2 separate regions of the Homo sapiens genome follow, and region 1 is linked to region 2. The links are contacts of gene promoters, found by promoter capture Hi-C in human tissues and cell types (Jung and others, 2019). All regions are on one chromosome and are shown on one strand. Each heading gives the region's core, a stretch centred on a gene start or on the middle of the fragment in contact. The rest is flanking DNA. Distances are from core to core; before and after follow the strand shown. Region 1 has its middle 14 kb from the start of GPRC6A. Region 2 holds the start of FAM162B (family with sequence similarity 162 member B).

The links. The method cuts DNA at HindIII sites, captures the fragments that hold promoters and counts their contacts. A contact is called where the count stands out against the background at its distance.
Region 1: a contact is called between a fragment that was not itself captured here and the fragment with the promoter of FAM162B in region 2, in 2 of the 25 tissues and cell types used here (H1 embryonic stem cells and mesendoderm cells).

What each region holds. Positions count from the first base shown.
Region 1 is chr6:116,840,394-116,845,597 of GRCh38, forward strand. No RefSeq gene overlaps it. Among named protein-coding and RNA genes, the nearest start is that of GPRC6A, 14 kb to the left of the region's middle. The HindIII fragment of the contact is 7,759 bases long and covers 1-5,204 here.
Region 2 is chr6:116,762,458-116,767,831 of GRCh38, forward strand. FAM162B (family with sequence similarity 162 member B) reads right to left here and starts at 3,262. Exons shown (of 4, transcript NM_001085480.3): 1 at 2,948-3,262; 2 at 2,690-2,798. The coding sequence starts at 3,119. LOC105377963 (a long non-coding RNA gene) reads left to right here and starts at 3,911. Exons shown (of 3, transcript XR_942910.3): 1 at 3,911-4,082; 2 at 4,186-4,264; 3 at 4,609-5,374. RefSeq lists an enhancer at 2,283-2,797. The HindIII fragment of the contact is 7,101 bases long and covers 1,040-5,374 here.

The DNA of each region.
Region 1 (5,204 bases), core at 1,794-4,293, 78 kb after region 2:
TCATACTCGCTGTGCCTTTTTACACATTGTCCCCTGACTTAACTACTTATTTTGCATGTTCAAGAAATGAAGTATAGTCATGCACAGATAATGCTTCTGTCAACAATGGACTACATATATGACAGTGGCAGTCTCCTAATATTATAATAAATTATTTTCACTGTACCTTTTCTATCTTTAGATATCTTTAGATACACAAATACTTCCAATTGCCTTACAATTGTTTGCAGCATTGTAGCTCAGGAGCAATAGGCTATACAATATAGCCTAGGTGTATAGTCGGCTATACCATCTAGGTTTGTCTGAATATACTCTATGATGTTCACACCACAATACAATCACCTAATGATGCATTTCTCAGAATATATTCCTGTTGTTAAATGATACATGACTGTACTTAGTGTAAATGTAACAAAACATGCACAGGGCTTGTATACTTTACAGCAGCCTGTGTTATAATTTTTGCTTCATTTGTCAATTGTAATTTAGGGAACTCAAGAGAAAAATGATGATGTGTTTTATTTACCCACATTTTTACTCTCCATTGTCCTCTCTTCTTTTCTGGTGTTTCAGGATTTCTTCTTGTGTTAATTATATATTTTTTATCCTGATTTTTGTACATTGGTATCTTGGGGCCTTGTTGACCCTGGAGAGACTGCCCCTCCCAGGGCTAGGTAATTCCTAACGATAGTAAAAAACTTACCATTTACATCCAAACCAACCAAACCAGAGCCCATGTCCCCAACAACGCACTTTGTCAGCCTCTCACACTCTGGGCCATTATCCGGCTGCCCTAATCATTCCAGTGCCAGGTAACAGATAGCTAGCAATAGTTCCAATTTCTAGAGCCCACCGAAATTATGCAAACTAGCCAATTCTACACCTGCTTACCCATCATCTCCTGTTCCTTCTCTTGGAAACCAGAATAAAGGCTCCTAGCTCATGTTCTGCTCACCCCTAGTCGATCTCCCTCTGCATACTGATGGACTGCATTACTTCCCATTGCGGCCCTGCATAGCATGCCAAGCCTCCTGTTTCTAGGAATCTGTTAGTATGAAAAACTTCTTCCTTCATGACAGTCATTTCTGTATCTGTGTGTCTTACCATATCTGATTAAAACAAATCCTGGGTTCCTTTAAAACACTTTTTTAAATCATTCCTTTCTATTTGGAGAATTTCCTTCCAGTCATTTTGTTAGGATAGGCCTGCTATGATAAATTCTGTTTTCCTTCAATTCTGAATGTCTTGAATTTCCTTTCATTCTTGAAAAATGTTTTCACTGGTAGATGATTCTGACTTGACAGTTCTTTTCTTTCAGCACTTGAAAAATATTATGCCACTTTCTTCCCAAAAGTGGAAGTCAGTTATGTGTTAATAACTGTTGCATATTGTTGTATCAATTTGCCATCCATCTATGTTTTCCACTAAATTTGAATACCTTGAAGTTTTTATTCAAGTACAATTCCAAGTGCCAAACACCCTGTTTGGCCATTAGTAGGTGTGCCACAAAGACTTGCAGAACAAATTGATCTTGAAAAAATAATATCTGATACTTAAAGCAATATTTAATACTTATTCTGTCCAAGGAATTTCAAATTGTTAACTCCCTAGAAATGAGCACTTATGATTTATAAATCACTTTTCTACTAAGATGTACCTTTCTATGAGATAAATAAAATTTACACTTTACAAAAGGTAAGGATGAATCTTTAGTTCTGCTTTTATTCAGATCAAGTGTCTATCCTGCCAAAATTACTAGAAAAATTGTCAGCTCTAACATTTATAGATATTTTTTCCTTTCTTAATTTCCATCTACAGATATACTAAAGATTCTGGAGCAGATTCAGGAAGTCAAATTAATTGGCTATATATACTGAAATTTGAAGTAGACATAATTTCAAGAAAACTGTGTACTATTTCTCAATATTTTATACTATTAATATATTTATCCTAGAATACTAAGATAAAATAGGATAAAAGATAAAATGCAAATTGTTTTTCTTTTCTCCTACTAAGTATGTAAACATTGCTTTTAATGAGATGTGGTTGAAACATTTGGTTTGAACTTCATAGTTCAGTTTTTGTGTTTATCTAATAGTAACAGAAAATATGTATTTTGGAAAACACAGATGATCAAAGGCTTCCCCCATTTGTCTTCAAAGACAGTAAAGAAAAAAACAGGAAAAGAGTAATAATTAACATTTTCCAACTTTTGAACTTTGTTACTATCTTTTAGTGTATTTTTACATTTAACTTTCATAGTTAGTTTATAACCATTATACTTTGCTTTAGTAAACAAAAGATGATGAAAGCATTTTCTCGTGATCATAAAGTAAGCAAAAAAAACCCCTAACTCCACTTTAAAAATCCTCCAGGAGATATAAGAAAAACAAAACATTAATGAGTTACAGAGTCAAAGAATGACAGAATGCTAGCAAAAGTCTTCTGATGACTTCCTAGTTTGGGTACCAGGAAAATCAAATAAAGCGTTTTATGTGAGCTACAAGAGGAAGAGACAAAGAATTAAAATCTCTAGGTTAGTTTTTCCAAACTGTTCCTTAAGATGTTAATAGTTGTCCTTTGATAAAAGAATTTTTATGTATGAATAAAATGTGAAACACTGGGTTGAATTAAGAACAGTGGTCAGATTATTTATTTATTTATTTTCTCTAGCGCTCTCACATCTCAGCCTTTATTTAGCCTAGAGAGACATAGCCTGCAGCATTTCCTAAACCTGGAAAATGGATGTGCTGCCACTGATTTTCCACTAGTTACTTTTGGTCTTCCCACATGCTTCCTCTCACAGAGCCATAATCATGATGGGTAAACCTTTTATAGTCCTAATTTCCAAAGTAGCTTCAAGTCCAGTCATTTATTACAGGGCACTAAGGGAGCATTTTAAAAAAACTGGTGTTTTATTGTTGATTTATATTTTAATAGCTAGAAAATATGATCTGATCTCATTATATACTGATAACAAGTATAAATCAGTACTGTATAATACTGATTTTTTTAAGCTGTTATTAAGACTTTCTTTGTGACATGGTCAATTTTTATAAACAGCCTATGTATGCTTAAAAAGGATGCAAATTCTCTATTTGTCAGTCTTAAAAATACATATCATGACGCTCCTAAATATTATTTATTCTTACTGTTTTTGCTCTTTTGCTTGAGCTATCAATCTCCCATGGTTAGATATATCCTACAAAGTATTCCTATCTAGAATAAACATTAAAAAAACTCTTATAAATCCATAAGGAAAAAGCATTCAACCCAGTAGGAAAATAGACAAAAGACTTTAAAGAAACTTCACATAAAAGGATATTCAAAGAACCAATAGACGTATGAAAAGAGGTGCAACTTCATTTACTGAAATAAAAGTTAAAACAACAAATACCAGTGCTTGATTCAGAATGGTTAAAATGAAAACGTACTGGGGCCAGGCATGGTGGCTCACACCTGTAATCCCAGCACTTTGGGAGGTTGAGGCGGGTGGATCACCTGAGGTCAGGAGTTCAAGACAAGCCTGGCCAACATGGTGAAACCCTGTCTCTACTAAAAACACAAAAATTAGCCAGATGTGGTGGCGGGCTCCTGTAATCCCAGTTACTCAGGAGGCTGAGGTGGGAGAATTGCTTGAACCCAGGAGGTGGAGGTTGCAGTGAACCAAGATCGTGCCACTGCGCTCCAGCCGGGGCAACAGAGGGAGACTCTGTCTCAAAAAAATAAAAAATAATAAAATAAAATAAGGAAGAAAAAGAAAAGAAAGAAAGAAAGAAAAACTGTTGGTAAGGATTCAAAGCAGCCAGATTTATCATTCACTCCTGGGGGAAATATAAATTACTACAACATTACAAAGCTGTTTGCCAGTATGTACTAACGTTAAACACATGCATACACCTATTACCCAGAAATTTCACTCCTAGGAAAGCCTCCCAACAGAAATATACATGTAACTTCACCAAAAGGCACTTATAATAATCTTTATAGTAGCTCAATTTGTGAGATGCAAAACTAGAAACAACTGCAATGTCCATCAACAGTAGAATGTAAACACAAATTTTGGTATATTCACCCATACTAACTATATCTAGATGCAACAATTGGATACAGCTCCCAAACATAATGCTGAAAAAAAGAAGCTAAACACAAAAGAATGCTTAGTATATTATTCCACTTATATAGAGTTAAAAAGCAATCAAAATCATCCTATAGTGTTAGAATTTGAGATAATGTTTACCCTTGAGTTCAAGTAACTGGAAACGGAACAAGGGGATTCTGGAATGCTGATGATCTGTTTCTCAGTCTGGGTGCCAGGTACAGAATTTGATAAATGAAAATTAATTGAACTGTGCACTTACAGTTTCTTTACATTTATGCAGGTATATCATATGTATAAAAACTATGTTAAAATAAAGCTATCCACTAATGGGGATTTGTTAATGTCATTTTGAAATTTGGCCAGTTTTGCTGTATATATTTCAAGCTACATTACTAGGTGTACATATACATGTTTATGATAGTTACATTCTCTTCGTGGGTTTTTCATTTTATCCCTAGTATCATGTTTTGTCTTAAATCCTATTTTGTCTGATACTAAAATTATACTGCCAGCTTTCTTCTGGCTAGCACTTACCTGGTATATATTACTCCATAATTTTTTGACTTTTGTGTTCCATTTTGTTTTAGGATTGTCTTGTAAGCACATACAGTTAAGAGTTTTTTAAAAAAAATCTACCTGATTTCAAAATTCTCTGATTTTAATAGGTAAATTAATCCATTTACCTGTAGTGTGATTCCTACTACATTTGAAGTTACTTCCATCTCTTCTTTTCCTTTGCTTGCCACCCTCCTTTACTGCCTCATACTGAAATGATAAAGTTTTCTTTATTTTTTCACTTTTACTCGTTGGTGTGAAAGCTATCAATTGCATATTGAAGATAAGTTTATCATTAGTCTTTCTGGTTTCTTTGTAGCTAAACAGTGTTTCTCTCAGGTTACACTTCATATTTTCCATTCATCTTATTTTCCATTTTTACTATGTTATGCTGAACTGGGGATGTATTTAACTATTTTTATTGTGGTGTGATATATGTACAGGTAACAGCACAACATCTTGATTAATTTTTACAAATTAAGCATATGTATACCTACACTGACATCAAGATACAGAATATTGCCATCACTCTAGAAGACTCCCTAAG
Region 2 (5,374 bases), core at 2,012-4,511:
TGTAAAGTAGGCTTTGTTTTCCATTTGAACAGTTTTTTTTTTAAAACTCATTTTTATCATTTTGTTTTTTTCACTCGCCTCCCAATCTCTTGTCCCTTCACATGCTACCCCCAAAAGACACACTATTATCCAGCTTGTGAGAATGTCTGTTAGAAAAATGTTTCCTTCATGGCTTTTGCAATAATTTTTTGTTAAACGTGATCAAAATCACAATAATTTGCCGAGGAAAAAGATAAAAGAGACCTTCATTTTAATGTTATTATTATACTGAAATTTGATATACTTAAATTCTAAATATTCATTCATAGTTTTATGCATGTTGTCCAAGATTTTAATAATACTACTTACAAAGTAGTAATACAAAAGGCATCATGCCTGTGGGACTTTTACGTTGAAATAAACTTTAACAATTTTCAATGATATGAAGTGGCAGATTATAAATATGCATATTTAAAGAATTTCATTCATTATAATATATTCATTGGTATTCTTTCCTCTCTATGTGCAGTTTAAATAGAGTGTAGTTACATTGAAAAAAAAAATCCAGAAAGACAAAGTTGCATTTTCTCTTAAAAACAGAAAACTTTTTAAATTTTCCACTGGTTAAAAGACTACAGAAAACTCCTATCTAGCCTATTTTCTTTAGATTTTAGGCAGAGTGATGTAAGTTTTAAGATGTTAGTTGCAAACAGGTCCAATTAGTGAGTATGGAGAAATTATTAGATTATATTTGCTGCTAACTTTTGTTCCAGATGGAACCTAGAAGCTCTGATCTTTTTTACCCAGCCATTTGGCTTTAATCTATTATAACAAATTAGTTTAGCACTGAGAAAAACAAGACAAAGTACAGTTATTATTAAACACAATTAGTGTATGATACAAAAATTATAGGTCACTTGTTCATTATATGTCCATTAAAAGGTAAAAGCTGTTTACATTGTAAGTGTGACACTTAGCTTAACAGGAATATCTCTCTTAAATAGTAATGCTTAAAAAGTTATAGAAAAATAATAAAATGAAAAATACTCAAATACTTTTATGTTTCCAATGCAAAACTGCAATGCTTTTTATAGGCATCCTGTTCTTAGTGAAATGCTCCTGTTTATAATACATCTTTTGACTATGATCTTGGGGAAATTACATTATTTCTGTAAAATGAGTCTGTTCACAAATACAGCTATGTTAAATGCAATACTGGGCATAGGTTTTCTTGACAAACAATATGCAATAATGTTGGTTCTTTACACTCTTGATTACTTGGTTAGGCCACTAGAAATAAAAATTCAAACCAATTGAGGGTGGTGGCTTACTTATTTTAATTTTTTTTTTTTTTTTTACTTCTTTGGCATTTATAGTATTAAATTTTCAGGCATCAATTAAAATTTGATAACCAGAGCTTATGATGATAAAGACTTTTCTGAGGCTAACTTTTGCTTTCAGCTAAGTCTGTAGTTTGGAGTCTATAGATCTCGAGGAAAAATAATCTTAGAAAGTGCCTCTGTAGTTGAATAAATACTGAAAACGGATTCAAATGCAGTGTTATTTCAAATTCCATGTCCATTTCTCATTTGGTGACTTGCTCCAATAAAAGAACGAAAATGCTTCAGAATTCATTACTGAGTGTACATTTCCTGCCATGTTCTCCCACCCCACCCCCTAGCTATCTGAGATGCTTTGGTAACTGATAAACTGCAATTGTTTATAAACAATAACATGGCAGGCACCATGTGAAAAACAGAAATATAGGCCCAGTTTCCATTATCCATTCTAATAGGCATTCATTACATTGTACAAATATACAGAATATCTAAAATCCTTCTTTCACGTTATGGTTTTAGTCTTTTATTTTTAAAAGATAAACTTAAAAAGTAGTAGATTGATTTTATTTTTAGTTTCCGTCCCTCTCTTTTTTACCCAATCCCTTGTAAAAATGCTGCGAAGGTTTTTGGGCTTGGCAGAAACAGAAACTTTGGAAAGATTTTTTTACAGGTTACATTTACTTATTATTAGCATTTATTTTACAGGTTACATTACCTTAGAGGGGGAGTTATTAGTTTGAGTTTTATCATCTGTCTTGGTGGGTTTAGCATGCTGAAGAGGCCCACAGTGCTGACACTCCCGCGCGTCCCACCCTGAGTAAACCCGGAGCCTAGAGGGCTGCAGAAACACGTCCGCCAGGCGTCTCCTGCCCCAGAAGAGGAGGCCGCATGGATGCGTCTTTTTTCCAGAGACCCCCCCGCCACAGCCGCCCCGCAAGCCAAGATCAGAGAACCCCTTCCTTGGGTGGGGTAGGGGGACGCCCCCGGCCAAAGCCTGGATTGCGGTCTGGCGTCCCGGCAGCCATCCGGATGCTCGCGAGGACCGTGGCCTGTTTGGCACAAGAGCCCCACTGCCTCCCAGTTCGGAGCTTGCTGGGGACCGGCAATCTGGGCGGTGCTGGAAGTGTCCCCTGAACCTCTCAGTTTTCACCCACCTTCTGCAATCTCCCTGTAAGCTTAATTGACTCTTGACACACCGCACTGGAGGCGGGGTGTGTGTGTGGGTAAACTCCGTGTGTGGTGGGTGATATTGCGAAGTGTTGGCACTGCGGCCGCTTTCGCTCCTAGGTGGCCGCGGTCGGAAGGTGGGTCACCCCGCACCCTTGCGGCCGGGGACCGACTCTCCTTCGCGCGGCGGTCGCCACACTTACGGGATCCGAGGCGGGATCTCCTCCATCGATTTGAAACGCCCTGTCCACAGCAGGATTTTCTTGTCGAACTGCGAAGGCCTGCGCTGCGTGGGGACTCGGTGAATCTCCCCTGCAGCGAAAGCAACCCAGATGGACGCGGGAACTGACGCACCGGCACAGAGGATCAGCGCGCCCTCAAGCCGACTCCCGGGCCGGCCCCTCGCTGCCCTCCCGCAACCTCCTCCCTCCCAGGACCTCCCCGTCGGAGCCCTGGCTCACCGTGACCTTGGGGCCCAGAATTGCTGGGGGCCCCGCCGCTGGAGTAGCAGGGGAGACCCCGGGGCGGAAGAGCCGGTGCGGGCCGTCGCGTGGCCTCGAGAGGCGCCCCGGGGCCGCAGCGGACTGTTAGCCCGCGGCCAAGGCGCAGTAGGCTCCCGACCGCCCTGAGCATGCTGCCCGCTTGTCCCGCGCCGCACCCGCACCTCCGGACCCAGCCACAGGCGTTGTCCCCGCAGCTCTCCTCGTCCCGCCCCGGCCTGCCGCGCGCTGGAGAGCCTGGGACGTGCAGCTGGAACCCCTGGCGCTCGCACACTCAGCTCGCTATCCCCGTCTCCGCCCCCGGCCAGCGACCCGGGATCAGGGCGTCAAGCCCCGAGGGGCTGGTTCCTCAGGAAGCAGCCTGCCTCTGTTTGAAACAGGCTCACCACCGCCTGAGGCAGTGCGTGTAGCTCCTTTTAAATTCTTTGTATTGAGTAGAAATGTATTCCCGCCAGGCTTTTAGCCTTTGATTCCATCGTTTGTTCCCCAGGAGAATAAATCTAAATCCTCTCTTCCAGGAAGAGACAACAATCCTTCAAGTGCAGGAAACTGAAGACATTTCCCAATTAAGTGTTAAGGGCACTCCACTAACTTCTGGATGAGATTTCTTGAAGTTAGCTCCTCACCTCATCGTCTCCCACCCCCATACCTTTTCTCTTTCCTACGGAAAACAATCTCAATTCCTCCAAGTGCCTTTCTCTATCTTTTCTTCTTCTTTTCAGAGACAGTCTCTGGCTCTGTCACTCAGGCTAAAGTGCAGTGGCATGCTGATAGCTCATTGTAACGTCGAACTCCTGGACTCAAGTAGTCCTCCCACCTTAGCCTCCAGAGTAGCTAGGGCTTTGGTCGTGCGCCAGCACGCTCCGCTATTTTTTTTTTTTTTAAGAGATGGGATCTCACTATGTTGTCCAGACTGGTCTCCAACTCCTGGCCTCAAGCTATCAGCTGGGCTCTGCCTCCCAAAGCACTGGGATTACACGTATGAGCCGCCATGCCAGCTTCCTACCTCTTCATCTCTTAGCCCACAAACTCTCCACACTCCCTTCAAAATGTGCCTTTCTTCTGTCACCTTCCACCATCTCCTCTATGCTAAAAGGTAAAAGAATCTACTATTTTCAGGCATTAAATGGTAACAGGGATTCAGATTCAATGATTGGAGAGAAGGGTTGTACAAGCAATTTACTTATCTTGTTCCACAGACAACAGACCTCCTGCCAAGTCAAAGTGCTCATCAGCCCAGCACCAGGCCGAGCTCACCCTCCTCTGCTATTACTGCCTGTGAGTTTCCCTCCTTATCTAGACACTGCTTTGCACTTGTTGGATTTCTAGATATTTTGCTTCCTAACTAGACTGTCAGGCTCTTGAAAGCTATAACTTTTCTGTAACTGCCAGCTCAGTTTTTTTTTCTTTTTACATAACCGTGTTAAACAAAAAAAGAGGGGTTAATAGCTCTGTGAAGACATACATTTAGAGGAGCGCTTGCAGAAGGAACATGGGCTTTGCCTTCACACCTAGGTTTAAATCCCGGATTTGTGACTTAAAAGTTGCACAATCATGAGCAGTAAATCATTTAAGTTATAAGTCTTGGTCTCTTTTGTAAAACCAGAATTCCTATCTTTTAGGTTTATTCATGCAATGACTACCAGTAACCAGCTACGTGCCAGCTACCTCTCAGAGCTGGGGATGGAGCAGTGATGACATCAGGTGAAGATGAAGAAAAATAAAACAAGGTGAAAAAGAATAAGCAGGAGTAGAGTGAGAAGATATTTAGAAACCATGGTTAGCAATGTCCTTCTAAATGTGCCTGGTGTGTAATAATACTTCAGAAGATAATGATTTCTTTCCCCGTCACATTCTTTAGTCCCAAAACACAAGGGCATTTTAATTTATGAAATCTCCTGTGGGGAACTAGGAGCTCCCTGACCTTCAGGAGTTGTGATTATATTCCCAAGATATAGCTGAAAAATTGGCACTTAGTAGATATTTAATAAGTATTTGTTAAATAAATGAATAGATGAATACAAGTCTTCGAAAACAGAATAGTCTGCACCTAGGCTAGTTTACGAAAAGACTGAGATGCTTGAGGACATTCTATGTCCTTTTAAACTTCATACTTTCAGTGTCTATCATGTTGCTTACCACATAGCGGTCTCCAAATAAGTGTTTATAAAACTCAACTGAATGAATTCCTGCCTGAGAAAGTATGTTGCCATAGCTAATATTGCTCCAGCATTATGGTACTTGAAGATTCTTGCATTATTTAAATGTGGTTTTTTCTATTAGTATTTTATTTGTCTTCACATCACTGAGAGGGAGTATCCATAGAGCTAGAGAAAGCCATCACTGAGAAACAACCAATCGTTAATAATTCACTAAGAAATATTAAAC